Linked DNA regions of Homo sapiens: region 1 is linked to region 2. The links are contacts of gene promoters, found by promoter capture Hi-C in blood cells and fetal thymus (Javierre and others, 2016). All regions are on one chromosome and are shown on one strand. Each heading gives the region's core, a stretch centred on a gene start or on the middle of the fragment in contact. The rest is flanking DNA. Distances are from core to core; before and after follow the strand shown.

What was found. The method cuts DNA at HindIII sites, captures the fragments that hold promoters and counts their contacts. A CHiCAGO score of 5 or more calls a contact.
Region 1: a contact is called between a fragment that was not itself captured here and the fragment with the promoter of TMC1 in region 2, in 3 of 17 cell types (M0 macrophages, M1 macrophages and M2 macrophages). The highest score is 7.4, in M0 macrophages.

The regions. Positions count from the first base shown.
Region 1 is chr9:72,418,991-72,423,177 of GRCh38, reverse strand. No RefSeq gene overlaps it. Among named protein-coding and RNA genes, the nearest start is that of ZFAND5, 56 kb to the right of the region's middle. The HindIII fragment of the contact is 5,180 bases long and covers 1-4,001 here.
Region 2 is chr9:72,519,760-72,524,136 of GRCh38, reverse strand. TMC1 (transmembrane channel like 1) reads right to left here and starts at 2,529. Exons shown (of 24, transcript NM_138691.3): 1 at 2,224-2,529. LOC101927234 (a long non-coding RNA gene) reads left to right here. Exons shown (of 3, transcript XR_001746721.3): 3 at 320-719. The HindIII fragment of the contact is 6,235 bases long and covers 1-3,880 here.

The DNA of each region.
Region 1 (4,187 bases), core at 162-2,661, 100 kb after region 2:
TGTAGTAGGAAACTGTTCCAAATTCCCTGGCATCTACAAATACTTAAATTTATCCATCAGAAGAAAAATAGTTTTATTTGGTAGAGCTCCAGAAAACAGAACTAGGACAAGTAGGTGAAGTTAGGGAGATAAATTATTTCTGTTCAAAATATGGGAAAACTGGGTGACAATCACTGCTGTCTAAAAATGGACTAGGTTGCCTCATGTGGCACCACATTCTGGATCACCTGTAGTGTCTGAGGAGAAGCAAAGTGACAATTGTCAAAGATGACATCCAGGGGATGCTTTCTGGGAGTGGGCAATAAGAAGGGATGATGTTATGAGGTGCTTCTGAGTCTGCAATTCCATTTTTCCCAATCCCCACCTCTTTCCAGCTTCAATGAGGCCTCCTGGGAGCCAGTAGTAGTTAGGTGGTCAAAAAGAAGGACAGAGACAAGAAAAGTTGAGCTCAAATCCCACTCTACCACTTAATAGCTGAGTGACCATGAGCAAATCCCTTAATCTTTTTGAGCTTCCATTTCTTCACCTACAAAGTGGAGTTTTCTACTAATTCTTTTCATAAGGAATAAGAGAGGTATTATATGTAAAGTGCTTTGAACACTGCCTGGCAGAGACTAAGTGTGCAACAAATATTAGTTGTTATTATTACAACTCAAACTACGAGAAAATTAGAGGACTCAGAAGTGTATTGGAAAGGACGTCATGATGATTTAATACCAACTCTGGCTACAAGAGGGTAAACACACAGTGGTGGAGATAACGTTAGGCAAAGGGCAAAGGACTTACTCTGACAGCTCCATTAGCATGCAGGGCTGCATGATCAATGCCAAGCATAAAACATCATGGGGATTTAAGGCCGGACGCGGTGGCTCACGCCTATAATCCCAGCACTTTGGGAGGCTGAGGCGGGCGAATCACGAGGTCAGGAGATGGAGACCATCCTGGCTAACACAGTGAAACCCCGTCTCTACTAAAAATACAAAAAATTAGCCGGGCGTGGTGGCGGGCGTCTGTAGTCCCAGCTACTGGGGAGGCTGAGGCAGGAGAATGGCACGAACCTGGGAGGCGGAGCTTGCAGTGAGCCGAGATCGCGCCACTGCACTCCAGCCTGGGTGACAGAGCGAGACTCCATCTCAAAAAAAAAAAAAAAAAAAAAAAGAAACATCATGGAGATTCAGACAACTTTCCCTTTTTCACCGCACTTGTTGTCCTATTGCCAAAACCTATATAGACTGTGACTTTCCCCCTTACTGTGAACCCTGCTATCGAACATCCCTGGCAGCATATCCTGCTGCCCACTCTCATCCTTCATCTATAAACCAGACATGAAGAAAACTATGTTCATTGGTGCAGCTCAGGCAAAGAAGTTTCCAAGGGCTTTGCTATGTTTTAATGTATGTGTCCCTCCAAAATTCATTTTGGAACTTCAACCTCAGTGTGATAGTTTAGAAAGCTGGGGCTGGCTGGGCACGGTGGCTCACGCCTGTAATCCCAGCACTTTGGGAGGCCGAGGCAGGGGGATCACCTGAGGTCAGGAGTTCGAGACCAGCCTGGCAAACATGGTGAAACCCCGTCTCTACTAAAAACACAAAAATTAGCTAGGCATGGTGGCAGGCACCTGTAATCCCAGCTACTCCAGAGGCTGAGGCAAGAGAATCGCTTGAACCCGGGAGGTGGAGGCTGCAGTGAGCCAAGATCGTGCCATTGCACTCCAGCCTGGGCAACAGAGCAAGACTCTGTCTCAAAAAAAAAAAAAAAAAAAAAAAAGCTGGGGCCTTTAGGAAGCAATTCAGTCATGAGGGCAAAGCCCTCATACATAGGATTAGTGACCTTGTAAAAGAGCTGGAGGGAACCAGCTAGACCCTTTTTCCCCCTTCAGTCTCTTCTGCCATGTGAGGACATAGCATTCATCCCTCTTTTGCCCTTTTCCCCTTTGCACCATGTGAGGACGCAGCAAGAAGGTCCTCAGCCAGACATCAAATGTGTAAGCACCTTGATCTTGGACTTCCCAGCCTCCAAAATCATATGAAATAAATTTTTGTTTTTTATAAATTACCCAGTCTCAGACACTTTGTTATAGCAGCATAAAAAGACTAAGACAGGCTGCTGCTTAAAATGACAAGGGAGAAAAGAAATCAAGTCTAATGCACTCTTTTTGAGCAACTTCTCAAAAAGTGGGCACACTTGACTCACATTTCTATGTTCCTGTTTTGTCTACACTTTTTATTTGATACCATGGAGCAGTCTGAAGCACACCCTTCCTCCTGCCTTTCCAGCACCCAAACCCCTGGCTTCAAATGGCTCATTTTATACATCTTCAGCCCACAGCCCTAGTCTGACCTCTCCCACCATATCAGCTCAATTATGCACAATACTGCTGTGCTGTGTAGATTTGTTCAACAATGTTATGATCTGAGCTCCTTGGGGAAAGGATCTTGTCATTTCTACTTCTACTTTGCAAGGTACCATGTGTATTGCCAACACTTTATAAACAATAATAATGTGTTAAAGGTGGATTTTCTATGTGTTCAAGTTACTAAATGAAAAATGACACCTTCTATTTCTAATGTTAATGCCCTTATCTACTAACACTCATTTCATATTTGCTGGAGAAAGGAAACATCTCATTTTAATTCAAATCTATTCTGGCGATCTTTGGAAATGAGGGTCACCCTCAAGAGTTTAAACTTACATATCAGGTCATTGTGAAAAAATTTCAAAAACCTATATCTCCTTCCAGTAATTATTTTAACTATAAAGCTCTTTCTTACAAACAGGCAGCCCAAATTTGATAAATGCTTGTTGAGCAAATAAACAAATGAGACTAAAATGAACCTCATGACAAGACTAAGAGATAAGAAGAACTGGTGATTATTTTCCCATTTTACCACACCGAAAATTGGTCTTTTTATTTTATTTTAACATTGTGTATGTGATAGGGTCTTGCTCTGTCGCCCAGGCTGGAGTGCTGTGGTGCAATCACAGCTCACTACAGCTCCAACCTCCTGGGCTCAAGTGGGCCCCTGCTTGAGCCTCCTAAGTAGAGGAGACTATAGGGTGGGCCACCAGGCCTGGCTAATTTTTTTTTTTTTTTTTTTTTTTTTTTAGAGATAGGGTCTCCCTATGTTGCCCAGGTTGGTCTTGAACTCCTGAGTTCAAGTGATCCTGCTGCCTCAGCCTCCCAAAGTGTTGGGATTACAGGCACGAGCCACTTGCCCTTGGTCAAAAATCAGTGCTTTAAAATGGATGTTTCATGGTCATGAATTAAATTCGGGTCTCTTGACTCCAAGTTCTAGTCAGATTTATTTGATGATTTTATCTCTCTTTTTTTTTTTTGAAATGGAGTTTCACTCTTATTACCCGGGCTAGAGTGCAATGGCATGATCTTGGCTCACTGCAACCTCCACTTCCTGAGTTGAAGCGATTCTCCTGCCTCAGCCTCCTGAGTAGCTGCGATTACAGGTGCCCACCACCACGCCTGGCTAATTTTTGTATTTTTAGTAGAGATGGGGTTTCACCATATTGGCCAGGCTGGTCTCAAACTCCTGGCCTCAGGTAATCCACCTGCCTTGGCCTCCCAAACTGCTGGGATTACAGGTGTGAGCCACCACACCCAGCCAATGATTACATCTTTACATCAGCATTTCACAAACTTTAGTGATGTGCATACCACCTTCAAGATTTTGCCACATCTATATAACTTCTATGCTTTTAATTTCATTTTTCTTTAACTCATTTCGTCTATATTATAATAGATAACTCTACTTTTTAATGTTCATGTATACCTTAAGTCAGTGTACAAATGCTGACACAGCCTCAGCCAGGCTCATTACTTGCACCAGCTCCCCCTAAGCCACCAACCTTGCCTCCTCCAACACACTCCTAACGCTGACTGAAAGCAGCTAATATAAGGAAGAAGTCTCTTTCATGCTTCTGCCACTTTCTAGGTCTTCTCTGAAGGCATTCTCTCCTTTCTGGGCCTTAGGAAGATCGAACAAGCTTTGATACAAAGCTCTCCTCATGAACTGAGATAAGAAAAAGTAGTATTTGCAGTTCTATCTGCTGGGACTGACTGGGTGCCAATAGTGGGAAACTCTTTCCTCTGCTAGGATAGTGGACAGTGGGTATTTGTATCACCTAAGCCTCTTAGATACAGTCCACAACCTCCCTCTCTCCAATCTATCTCT
Region 2 (4,377 bases), core at 1,280-3,779:
ATTTCAGGCTAGGTGAAGAAATAAAAGATGCTACAGTCTATTAACTGTTGGGACCAAGTATAGTGGCAAGTATTTAATGGGCTCCCCAGCACTGACGAGTGAAAATGGATGATGATAACCTCACTGCAAAGGGTAATAGAAGACTGACCTTGGGCTATGAAAAATGTGTTCTGTAGACTTGTGGCTGCAATTTCAGAGCCCATGATGCCCCTTTCTCACTTTATGCTTCAGTAGCAAAGCATTTACCGGCTTTGAGTTCTTTTAATATAATATGCTGTTTCAGGCCTCTATACATTTTTTTTTTATTCTCTGTTCTTAGCCTGGAACAAGTACAGTTGACTCTGAACAAGTCAGGTTTGAACTGCATGGGTCCACTCATATGAAGATTTCTTTCAACGAAAGCTACCCCGAGTGTGCCTGCCTTTCCTGCCTCCCCTTCCACCTCCTGCACCTCTACCATCCCTGCCACCCCTAAGACAGCAAGGCCAGTCTCTTCTCTCTCCCCCTCCTCCTTCAGCCTATTCAACTTGAAGATGACAAGGATGAAGAGCTTTATGATGATCTACTTCCCCTTAATGAACAGTAAATATATTTTTTCTTCCTTACAATTTTCTTAATAGCATTTTCTTTTCTCTAGCTTACCTTATTGTAAGAATACAGTGTATAATACATAAAACATACAAAATATGTGTTAATAAACTGTTTATGTTATTGGTAAAGCATCTGGTCAACAGTAGGCTGTTAGGAAAGTGTGAGGGTAGTCAAAAGTTAAGCTCAGATTTTTGACTACGCAAGGGTCGGCATCCCTAAACCCCAAGTTGTTCAAGGTCAACTATAATTCCCTATTACTCCTCACTCTTCCTCCCTCCTTCCTCCTCTTCTTCCTTATCCCTTCTCCTTCATTTTCCCCACAGGCTAACTGCAACTCAGCCCACTTCATTTCCTAATTTTTCCTCCTCCCTGCATCCCCCCGAGTCTTTGTGAGATGCTCTTCCCTTCACTCCTGCCAGCCCTATGGCATCATGGCATTATCATGGTGTATGGAGAACTTCTGTCTTATCTGTTTCTCCCACTAACCCAGTGGTTTTCAACTGGAGACAATTTTGCTCCTCAGGGGACATTTGGAAAAGTCTGGAGACATTTTTAATTGTCACTTCTGGGGAAGGGGGTTGATACTGTCATCTACTGAGTAGAAGCCAAGGATGCTGCTAAACATCCTACAGTGCACAGGACAGCCCCTCACAAAAAAGGATTATCAGGCCCCAAAGGCCAATAGTGCTAAGGTTGAGAAACTGCACTAGGCTGAGTTCCTTTAAAATATGACCCTATTCAGCGCTGTTCCAGCAGCTCCACAGACAGTGTCCAGTGCCCAGTAGGAAGGAATCCAAACAGTTTTAATATTACATTTGAAATTTTAATTGAAAAACTCTTCTGACAGCTGTATGTTATAACTAATAAGCAATATGACCACATACCACAATTCAAAGGAAAACCAATATCCAGAGGTAAAGGTGGCTTACACCCATCAGTCTTTGACACTTCCTCCTATCTAGTTCTCTGTATTTCTTCCCTTTCTCCTTTTCTCTTGTCCCTGTGCTCACTGTCCCCCTTTACTGTCATGTTTGTTTGAATTCCACTTCAAAATGGGAATTTGAACAGAGTGCAATAAATTGTCCCACATTTGTTTATTTTAGGAAATCATTGCATTTAATTTTAACATTTAAACATATCAATTAGGCCAGGTGCGGTGGCTCACGCCTGTAATCCCAGCACTTTGGGAGGCTGAGGCGGGCGGATCACGAGGTCAGGAAATCGAGACCATCCTGGCTAACACGGCGAAACCCCGTCTCTACTAAAAATACAAAAAATTAGCCGGGCGTGATGGCGGGCGCCTGTAGTCCCAGCTACTTGGGGAGCCGAGATCGCGCCACTGCACTCCAGCCTGGGAGACAGAGCAAGACTCCGTCTCAAAAAAAAAAAAACTTATCAATTACTGGGTGACATGCTGTGCACTGCAAGAAAAACAAAGATAAATAGGAAACTGGGACTATCCTAACTGGGGGAGATTTCTGTAGCAGTAGAAAAGTAGAGGAAATATAGTTTTATTTCACTAATGTGATTAGGGAATATCTCATGGAGAAAGTCTTCGATTTAGGTCTTCACACATGTTTCATAAAGAATGTTAACACACCACACATAGGTAATAATGTTGTCTTTCCTTACCTGGCATCATTATGAGGGCCACTTTTTGGGGCAATGATTCCTAAATTTCAGCAACTCCTGGAGGGCTTGTGAAAGAAAGCACAGATTGCTGGGTTCTGCCCTCATAGTTTCTGAGGCAGTAGGTCTTCGGTGAAATCAGAAAACTGGTGTTTCTTTTTTCTTTTTTTTTTTGTGACGGAGTCTTGCTCTGTCACCCAGGCTGGAGCGCAATGGCGTGATTTCAGCTCACTGCAACCTCCGCCTTCCGGGTTCAAGCGATTCTCCCGCCTCAGCCTCTGAGTAGATGGGAAACAGTCGCGCGCCATCATGTTTTTGTAGAGGCGGGGTTTCACTCTATTGGCCAGGCTGATCTTGAACTCCTGACCTCAGGTGATCCGCCCACCTCAACCTCCTGAAGTGCTGGGGTTATAGGCGTGAGCCACGGCGCCTGTTTGTTTTTTTTTTTCTAATCAGAGGTTTTGCTCTTGTCGCCCAGGCTGGAGTGCAATGGTGTGATCTTGTCTCACTGCAACTTCTGCCTCCCAGGTTCAAGTGATTCTCCTGCCTCAGCCTCCCAAGTAACTGTGATTTCAGGTGCCCGCCACTACACCCGGCTAATTTTTGTATTTTTAGTAGAGGCGGGGTTTTGCCATGTTGGCCAGGCTGGTCTCAAAACTCCTGACCTCAGGAGTTCGGCCTCCGAAAGTGCTGGGATTACAGGCATGAGCCACTGTGCCCGGCCTAGAAAACTGGTGTTTCCAACAAGTCCTTTGGTGCTGCTGGTGCTACTGCGGGCCTTCTGAGGAGACTTTGAGAACCGCTGCATCAGGATTATCAGCCTGGTAACTCCTGGCCGAAGAAATGCACACCCTTCATTTGGCTAAAAGAAAGAATTTCCAATATTCATAAAGAAAACACAACTTGTGGGTTCTCCAAGCAGGAGAGGAAAAATCATGTTCCAGTCTATTCCTGTAACTAATGAAGGGCTCAGGTTTCAAAGGTAAGTTAATTGTCAGACCCACTTTATTGTACCCAGTGTCCTTGGGAAACATAATTATTTATTGGAAATATGTCACAACTAACATAAGTCTTAAAAATTTGTTAAATTAGAAACAAAATATTGTATTTGCTGATATGTTAAAACATAAGGGCCTAACATTTAGAATTGCACTTCTCATACTCACAACATGTACTCAAAATGCTGTTAACATCTACTTTGATGATTGTTTTGGGTTTACTTGAATCTAATGTTTCCATTTAATAATTCCTTTTTTTTCCCCTTTCCTTTTTTCAATCAATCCTTTCTCTTTTCTATGTTCTATATTCATGTTATCTTAGAATTCCATTTTGGCCTTCTAGGTTCTTTACTTCTTCCTCCAGCCTGTCATTTTCATGTCTTCAGTGATTTCTCAGACTTCTCACAGAAAGTTAACCATTTTTGTGCATCTTGAAACTTTTAACCTTTGATTTGAAGATAAATGCTAATAAATAAATATAATTCTTATGAATACATTATGCACAATGTTAAATTCAAAATGACTGACATGTTTCATGCTGTGTGCTATAGATATGCTAAACTTCATTTCAAACAGACTAAATAAAACACATGGAACTACATGCACTTTTTGTGAACAGCATCTTCATACCTGTTGTTTGTTAATGTCAGCAATTATAAGCTTATAGGTGTGTTTTTCAAGTGATCACTGAAAATAAATGTAGTATGTCTATTGGCAGAACCACTCACACCTACTAATTATTTGAAAAACATGCTCAAACACACAGTAGTGCCTTCTAGAGAAAGCATAGTATAGTCCTCCCTCATTTCCAAGGACAAGAATTCATTTCTTTAAGCTTTCTTCACGAAAGAATGCAATAAAAGAGGAGGAAACTGGGACTTGATTGAAGAAATATCTCTACTGGGAGCATGAACTAATAATGAGTGACTCTAAGAAATCTCTCACAGGCATTTTTATTTTTGGCTTTTGTTGTTGTTGTTTGGTTGGTTTTCATTTGTTTTTTATTTTTATTTTTTATTTTATTTTTATTTTTTGAGGCAGAGTCTCGCTCTGTCACCCAGGCCAGAATGCAGTAGCACTGTCGTGGGTCACTGCAGTCTTTGCCTCCCAGGTTCAAGTGATTCTCCTGCCCCAGCCTCCTGAGTAGCTGGGATTACAG